3 separate regions of the Homo sapiens genome follow, and regions 2 and 3 are each linked to region 1. Evidence: promoter capture Hi-C in human tissues and cell types (Jung and others, 2019). All regions are on one chromosome and are shown on one strand. The core of a region is centred on a gene start or on the middle of the fragment in contact, and the rest is flanking DNA. Distances in the headings are between cores, read along the strand shown. Region 1 holds the start of C1QA (complement C1q A chain). Region 2 has its middle 53 kb from the start of MIR4418. Region 3 has its middle 73 kb from the start of ZBTB40.

Region 1 (2,840 bases), core at 1-2,500:
AGACGGACTCCTGATTCTCAGTGCCACCCCAAGCCTTCACCCTGGAGGCCAAGTCAGGCCAAGGTCCAAGGGGCTGGGTCCCGAGGAAGGGTGCTTACCCGGCTCCCCTTGCTCCCCCTTGAGGCCTGGCCGCCCCCGTCTGCCAGGTCTTCCTGCCTCCCCTTTCTTCCCGTCTGGTGCTCGGCACAAGTCCTCGGTCACCATAGAGGCCAGCGATATGGCCAGCACACAGAGCACCAGCCATCCCCGGGGACCCTCCATGATGCCTCTGTGGAGACACGGGAGGGCCTGGGCAGGTTGGACATCACACTCACACCCAGCTCCCACCCTTGAGTCCCATGCACACAATGATATATGCACAGTCCTCCCCAAGTGCACATGCACCCTCTGGGGCTCTCAATGTCCACTCTCAATCCAGCCCCAGGACCCCACGCATATACACAGAACCACAAACTCACACACATCCACACATGCAACAGAGCACACCCACATCTTCACACACTCACACAAACACAGCTCTCATCCACGCACCTACAAAACACAGTAGGCAAACTCAGAAATCCACTATACCCCCCTAGACACACAACTGATACCCAAATAGACCCTGTCCCTCACTTGCACGGACACACACATTCATACACTCCCACAGGTAATCGATTTCATTGAACAAATATGTATTGAGCGCCTGCTCCTTATTTAATTAACACTGGCTCACCCAGATGGTGGAGCTCTGCATACACACAGGAATTCACAAACGCCCAAAGCGACACCTGCTCACTCTTCTGCATGCTCAGCGCCTTTCAGCATCCACCTGAGCATGGGTGACTGGCTGCCCCTACAGTCCCCTCTGCTGGGTCCCACTGCCAGCTCTAGCACCCCAGGCTTTTCCTGGTTTCTTATGTGTTATGGGGCCAGGACCCAGGAACCCTGGTCTTACCCTTCAGTTGTTAGGTCTAACTCATCGCCTCTCACCCTCCCCCAAGCCCTGGCTCAAGGAGTTAAGGTCCCTCCACTCACCCATTCTGGGTCCTGGATCAGTGCTGCACCCCCATCCCTGTCCTAGAATCAGGCACAGTTATTTCCCTCCCTCCCTGCCTCAGCTGCCCAGCCTCCTGGGCCAGCTCCCCTGGGTCCCAGAACTCTGCAGCCCCCTCCCTCTGGGACTCTGGCCTCACCTGCCTCCTGTTGTCAACTCCAACTGGATGCTCCTGCCCTCCGCCCAGGGACCCTGTGGGCTGCCCAGCAGGAGTGGCTCCAGGCTGTGGCCAAGTTTCACATCCCTTCCTACTTCCCCTTCTTCAGACCTGCCCCCTGAACTTCCCCAGTGGCCAGAAGCTCACCAGGGACATTTCAAGCAGACTTCAGCAAGACTGGGACATTGGGCGTCCTGCCCCAGCAACAGCTGGTGTGGGAGTGGGGGCAGTGAGGCCAGTGCCTGTGAGGATGTGGGGTGGAGGCCGTGCAGGGTGAGGTTCTGAGAACCAGCGAAGCACAGAACACCAGAGCGGAAGGAATCTTTAAAAAAATCTGTCCCTTGTAGGACTTTTCATGATTATGAAAGTGACATGCAATTCATTGCCAAAAGCTTGGAAAATACAAAGAAGAAAGAACAGTGCATTGGTGAGAAGGAAGCACAGCAATCTGTTTCTAGACTTGCTGCTTCCTAGTTGCATGTCTTTGGGAAATTACTTGACCTCCTGAGCCCTCAGTTTTATCTGTACACTGGGAACGGGGTCCTATATCATCTGATTATTATAACATTTTAATGACTTGCACATACAAAACACTTGGCACATGGTGAACACTTAGTCACTAGCTTTTGCCAACATTTAAAAAAACAGCAAGTCTAGGTGCTTTGGCTCACGCCTGTAATCCCAGCATTTTGGGAGGTCAAGGCAGGCGGATCACTTGAGGTCAGGAGTTCGAGACCAGCCTGGCCAACATGGTGAAACTCCATCTCTACTAAAAATTTAAAAAATAGCCAGGTGTGGTAGCATGCACCTGTGTAGTCCCAGCTATTTGGGAGGCTGAGCTGGGAGGATTGCTAGAGCCCAGGAGGTTGAGGCTGCAGTGAGCTTTGATCTTACCACTGCACTCCTGCCTGGGAGACAGAACAAGACCCCATCTCAAAAAAAAAAAAAAAAAAAAGAGATGGCAATGGCGGGCCGTCTGGAATGGCTGCTGTCATCACACTGGCTGCAGCAGGGAGGCACGGCCAGGGCTGCATGCTCCATGTAGCCAGTGGGAGCTGGGGACAGTGGGAACCCCGCCCTCCTGGGAACCACTGCAGCTGCCAAACCACAGCTGATCCTGCTTCATGGAGCAGGTGGGGGCCCCCGCCATCCCCCATGCAGCTGCAGCTGCCTAAACTGCAGCTGTGGACCCAGGCATCCCTGCAATCTTGGGGGCCCGGGAAGGCCCCCCGCCCCACCCTTCAGGCTCAGAAGTGTCTGCTCCCACTGCCTGGCTTCTCCCTCCTCTTGGCGCCCACTCTGATCTTAGAGCAAAGTTGGTGCTGAGCCTGGGTGCTGTCGCAGCCTGGCTGGGTGTGGGCATGCTTGGGGCAGTGCTGACACACTAGACCCCTGCTGCCTTGGCCCCCTCTGGACTTTGGGCACTGACTAGCATGGAAGGAAAGCCAAGGGGAAACTGAGGGCAGCTCGGCACTGGCCTGCAGACGCTCCTTGGCATGAACAGCCTGGGCACCATGAACAGCAGCAGGAGACAGACAGGCTCCTGGGTGGAAGGGGATGGGTCCCTGGTGAGGCCCTACCTTCAAGCCAGGGAGGGCCTCAAGGCTGGGGGCCAGGCTGCCAGTCCCACACACCAGAGTGGGAACT
Region 2 (2,840 bases), core at 178-2,677, 320 kb after region 1:
GTGATGGAGGGTTGCAAACAATCGCTTTGTTCCTCCCAACTCTGACTCCTTCAGGGTCTTATAAAATGAGAGCACGCACTTTCAACATCTAATTGAAGATAATGAGGATGATGCCCATGCTGAGGGTGGTGGCTGTCATGTGCCAGCACGGGCTTTGTGTCAACAGGGTGTATAGCATGGTCTCATGTGATCTTCTCAATAACCCTACAATGTAGTCAACTATCATTACTTTTTTCTTTTCTTTTTTTCTTTGGAGACAGGGTCTTGCTCTGTCACTCAGGCTGGAGTGCAGTGGCATGATCATGGCTCACTGCAGCCTCATCCTCCCAGGCTCAAGTGATCCTCCCGAGGAGCTGAAACTGCAGGCATGCACCATCACAGCTGGGTAACTCTTTAGTTTTTTGTGGAGAGGGGGTCTCTGTTTCTTGTCCAGGCTGGTCCCAAACTCCTGAACTCAGAGGATCCACCCACTTCAGCTCCCAAAGTGCTGAGATTACAGGCATGAGCTGCCACATCCGCATCCCGTTACTACTTTTACACAGATGAAGAAATTGAGGCCTACAGAGGGAAAGTAACTTGTCCAGGATTGCAGAATTAGCGACTGGGATTCAGACCCAAGCATCCTGACTCCAGAGCCTCGATTCTGAATTATTAGGCTATTTTGCTTCCCAGCAGCATCAGCAACAACAACTACTACTATTACTATTACCCACTACTACTTCACTGAGCACTTATTGTGTGCTAGGCATGGAGCTCAGGGTTTTAATTCTGTTCTAGCAAATCCATGCTGCAGAACAAATCAATCCAAAGTTGATTAGAACAATAAGTTATACTTTTGTGTTCATGCATCGGTAATTTGGACAGGGCTCAGTGGAGACTACTCATCTCTGCCTCAGCTGGGATGATTCCAAATGCCTGGAAGAGCTGGGGCCTGGCTGGGTACCTCCCTCTCTCTCTTCCTGCAGGTCAGGGCCTCCACGTGGCCTCGCCAGCATGGAGTTCCCAGGGTCATCAGTTTCTTTTGTTTTTTCTTTTTTTTTTGAGACAGAGTTTCACTCTTGTTGCCCAGGCTGGAGTGCAATGGCATGATCTTGGCTCACCGCAACCTCTGCCTCCCAGGCTCAAGTGCCTCAGCCTCCCGAGTAGCTGGGATTACAGGTGTGCACCACCATGCCTAGCTAATTTTGCATTTTTAGTAGAGATGGGGTTTCTCCATGTTGGTCAGGCTGGTTTCAAACTCCCGACCTCAGGTGATCCGCCCGCCTCAGCCCCCAAAGTGCTGGGATTACAGGTGTGAGGGTTTATCCGTTTCTTACATGGTGGCTGGCGTCTCCTAGAGACTAACACAGAAGCAGCAAGGTCCTTCTGCCCTGGCCTTGGAGGGCAGCAGCGTCACTCCTGCTGCATTCTGTTGGCTACAGACGAACATAACGTGGGTCCAGATCCCAGGGGCACGGGAAGTGAATCCCCCCATCTCAGTAAGAAGCTTGTCAAAGCACTGATGGCCACCTTCAACTCGCCATGCTTATGTTCTCATTTAAGAACTTTTACAATGATCTATGGGATTCATTTATCCACTCACATCCATTGAGCACCTACCGTGTGCCCGACACTGCTGCAGGTCCTGGGAGAGAGCAATGAATGTGAATGTCATTACACTCACTTTACAGATGAGGCAATGGAGACTTGCAGGGGTCTCAGGGACCAGCCCTTTCCCTGTAGACCCTCACGAGTTCTTTACAGTGAGCCCATGAGGCTGGTACTGCGACGGCCAGCCTTGAAGTGGAGAAGCGGGATCCGCATGCTGGCCAGGCACTTGCTCAGCACCCCTTCCTTGCCTTAGTGAGTTCCAAGTCTGCACTTCACTGTGACAGGGATGCATGGGTCCCACTGGACTTGGGGGGCATCCTGCAGGAGGGGCCAGGCTTATGGAGAAGAAGCCCGCGGTGCTGTTCAAATGCCAGCCCTGATGCGAGCGAGGGAGGGAGGGTTGCCTGAGGGCGGGAAGCGGTGAGGGAGCCGGGATAATGGCCCAGCCTGAACCTGTCGCCACGGCAACCGCAGGGGCCGTCTGGAGCCAGCAGCCTGCCAGGCCTTGGCCCCACAAAGCCCGAGAGGGAGGCAGAGGGGGCGGACCTGGCGGGGCATAAATCAGGGAGTTCTATGCCCCTGACTCCGGGCAGACGATTTATGGGACTACTCCAAGCCCACGAGATGCACAGGGGAGAGCTGAGAGGGTCTCCCTGTTCCCACCGCCCCTGGGGCCCCTGCTTGGACTCGGATGCGTGTGCAGGGTGGGCAGGAAGAGGCCCCTCCAGGCCACCCTCAGAGCTGCTGGAGGCCCCTGCCCCCACCCATCCCATAAGACACCTCTGTGCCCACTGTACCAGCATGCGGCCCCCACGCCAACAGCAAAAGTCTCAAGAAAGAGATACCTCTAAATTCTTGAAATGCATGCTGATATTTTCTATCTTATTCTGTTCTATTCCTTTTTAAAAATGCTGGTCACAACTCACTAAATTAATGTCATGACTCATTCATAGTTTGTGACCTGCAGTTAGGTCAACACTGATCCAAAGGAAGCCAGAGGGGGAAACTGAGGCTCACCGACTCCCTCCTCTCACACACAACTGGAGCAGACTTATATGCATCAATCAGCTCCTCCAGTCTCCCCACACACCTGGCTCTGCCTCAGGGCCCAAGCTTGTTCCCCACCACCCATTGTAGTCATTCAAGATGGAACCAGCTTCCTTGGAAGGTAATGAGCTACCCATCTCTGAAGTCATCCAAACAAAAGTTGAATGACCACCTGCCGGGTGCTCCAGGGAATCCCGGCATCC
Region 3 (2,840 bases), core at 233-2,732, 260 kb after region 1:
CTCTAGCTCCTGGCCTGCCTCAGGCTCTTCTCCCATGGAGGGGCACCCCACCCCCCACTCCCAGATGACACACACTCTGACTCAGATAGCCTGTCCTCATCCTTCCGGCCGTGACCCAGGGGGCTGTGGTGGGGGTGGAGGAAGGGGAGGAACAGTCCAAGGAAAGGGTGATCCCATCTCTCTTGTCTCTGGGGCTCACCATGAAGTCAGCGGAGTCCCAGCTGCTGATGTCAGGAGCGAATAGGACTAACAACCCACATGTATTGAGTGCTTGCTCTGCACCAGCACCACACAAGTGCCTTACATCCATAGCCTCCTCGAGTCCTTATCATAACCCTTTGAAGCAGGGGTTGAAATGATGCCCATTTCACAGATGAAGAAACTGAGGCCCAGAAATTGAAGTCCCTTGCCCAAGGTCACAAGGCTGGTCACGGCTGAGACAGGACCTCAGAGCTGGCTGCATCTCTCTGTAACCTAGGCTGCTCCAGCAACTGAGCCAGCTCCCAAATGCTCTATTGTGCTCCCTCAAAACCCCCTACCCGCCTAATGCCACACGCAGGTGCAAGACCCCTACCACGGGATGCCCAGAAGAATGAGCCGCCTCCAGCCCCCAACCCAAAAGAGAAGAGGAGCAGATTCCCGGGGGCCCTCCGGCTAAGCAGGCACCAGCCTCCAACCGGAAATTAACTCAAAGGAAGAAGGGAGCCGACTCTGGATGCAGAGAGATGAGGCTGATTGTTTTCTGTTCTTCATTAAGTAACAAAGGGAAAAACCAACTGTGCATGGTGTGTGAGCTTCCCCACCGGCACCACCCCAGACTCCTGGAACATCTTTATCCACTTACCCAGGGATTCAGGAAATTCTCTTCCAAGCCAGTTTTATTGGAGATTTTGGAAGCAAAGCTCACAGTCTCCCAATCAATAACAGATGAACAATGCTCACATTGCATTTTTTGGGGAGGACGTTTAGCCCGGGCTTGTCCCATCTGAAGAGCCTGCCCTTGGACATCCCTATTTGATCAGACATTGCTGGGAAATGAACTTCAGGGCAATTCTAGAAACCAGAGTCATTGGCATGAGGGTGCAGCAGGAAGGGGCGTCCTGGTCTGGGCCAGGCCTGGGGAAGCCCCATGTCTTGCAAAGGTTAGGGTCTGACCCCCCAGGTTCTCCCTGGCCTCAACTCTCTCCCCCGCCTCCTCCCTGGCTTATCCTCCACATGTGCTCTGCATGGGTATCGAATCTGCAGCCCATAAAGAATCAATCAAATCCAGTCTGGGCTCAGCCAAGGGCTGCAGCGCCAAAGTGCTAATGGAGGAAGGCCGGGCAGCCAGAGGGGATGGCAGGCCTGGCGGTGCAGTGGCGATTTCAGCATCAGCCTTCTTCCCACCCACACTCCATCCCATAGATACACGGAGCTGCAGAAGATGGCCCAAGAATGGGAACTGGGACCAACTCGTGATTCTCCATCTCCGCCTTCTCCACAGCTGGAGGGGTTGGGAGGGGTTGTGGGAGGGGAGCAGGGACACCTCCAGGGGACATAACACTTTTGTTACCATCAGACCATCTACAGTGAGAACAAACTACTTAGAGTGGGAAGCAGAGTCCACAGCTCATATCCTTCCTCTCAGCAACACTTATTGAGCACCTACAGCATGCCAGGCAGGGGGAGGGTAAAGTCCAGGCAACTCCCGTTTGCTGGAGTTTACATTCTAGCAGGTTTATTCAGCATCTCTGTCAAGAGAAAAGAAAAACCAAGAAAAACTATATACATTTTGGGACCCATCAAGGCATGACGGTTTTTTCCTAGTGCCATTTTGGAGATTCCATCACTCCCATGGCCAGGTCATTCATGCCATTCCCAACCTGTCTGTCAAAAAATCTGCTAAATATGTTGGCCCTGCCTGAGTCATGCCCATCATCTGGAAGATATTTGTTGAGCACCAACTAGGTTCAGGGCCCTGGTGGACATATGTTCTGGAAGCAAGAGGCAGGCCAGAATTGGAGCACCCAGTGGTGAAAGGCATGCTGAGGGGCTGTAGGAAAGCTTCAGTCTGAAGAGAGGGAGCCCCTCCACAGCAGGGCGGAACCAGCCCAGGTCCACAAGGCACAAATTCTTGTGCAAGCCCAACTCTGCCAGTGAATCACTATGTGACTTTGGGCCAATCTGTGTTCTCCTCTGAACCTCAGTTTCCCCATCTATAAAATGCGATGATGCACATATGAGTGTTCTCCAGGTACGGTCTTGCTTCAGAATCATCTCAGGGTGTGGGAGTTGGTGAAAATGCAGGTTCCTGGGCCCCACAGCAGGCCTCTGGCAAGGGTCCTCAGGAGGTGGGTCTAGGAGTCTGCATTTGTAACACATTCCCCTTGGGGTTTCCGATGTCCCAAAGTTTGAGCAAGACTCCTGGAGGAGACAGTGTCCAAGTGCTTGGCAAACGGGTCAATTCTGCTACAAAAGAAGGCAGCTGATAGGGGTGCAGATGGTCAAGGGAAACTCCCTGGAGGGGGCAGAAATGAGCTGGGCCTGAAAGCCTAATAACAGGAACGATAATCGTGCTATTGCTTGTGAAATGGCTTTCAAGCACAAGCCCTGTGCTAAGTGCTTTATGTGCATTACTTCATTTAACCATCATGATAGCCCTGGAAGAGAAGACTTCTTATCCCCATTTCATAGACGAGGAAGCTTAGGCTCTCCAATGGTTAAGTGACTTGCCCAAGATATTTGGATGCCCTCTGAGACACACTGCCAAATCCTCCCTAACAAAATACCACAGGCTACTCAGGGACCTCCTGAAACCTGGAGCCATAGAGGAGGCCTTTCTGGAACAGAAGGCTTTGGTA

What was found. The method cuts DNA at HindIII sites, captures the fragments that hold promoters and counts their contacts. A contact is called where the count stands out against the background at its distance.
Region 2: a contact is called between a fragment that was not itself captured here and the fragment with the promoter of C1QA in region 1, in 3 of the 25 tissues and cell types used here (IMR-90 fibroblasts, mesenchymal stem cells and spleen).
Region 3: a contact is called between a fragment that was not itself captured here and the fragment with the promoter of C1QA in region 1, in 3 of the 25 tissues and cell types used here (IMR-90 fibroblasts, aorta and dorsolateral prefrontal cortex).

What each region holds. Positions count from the first base shown.
Region 1 is chr1:22,635,038-22,637,877 of GRCh38, reverse strand. It overlaps C1QA (complement C1q A chain), which reads right to left and starts at 1,250. Exons shown (of 3, transcript NM_015991.4): 1 at 1,176-1,250; 2 at 99-268. The coding sequence starts at 261. The HindIII fragment of the contact is 11,741 bases long and covers 1-2,253 here.
Region 2 is chr1:22,317,932-22,320,771 of GRCh38, reverse strand. No RefSeq gene overlaps it. Among named protein-coding and RNA genes, the nearest start is that of MIR4418, 53 kb to the right of the region's middle. The HindIII fragment of the contact is 3,603 bases long and covers 1-2,840 here.
Region 3 is chr1:22,377,743-22,380,582 of GRCh38, reverse strand. No RefSeq gene overlaps it. Among named protein-coding and RNA genes, the nearest start is that of ZBTB40, 73 kb to the left of the region's middle. The HindIII fragment of the contact is 5,446 bases long and covers 1-2,840 here.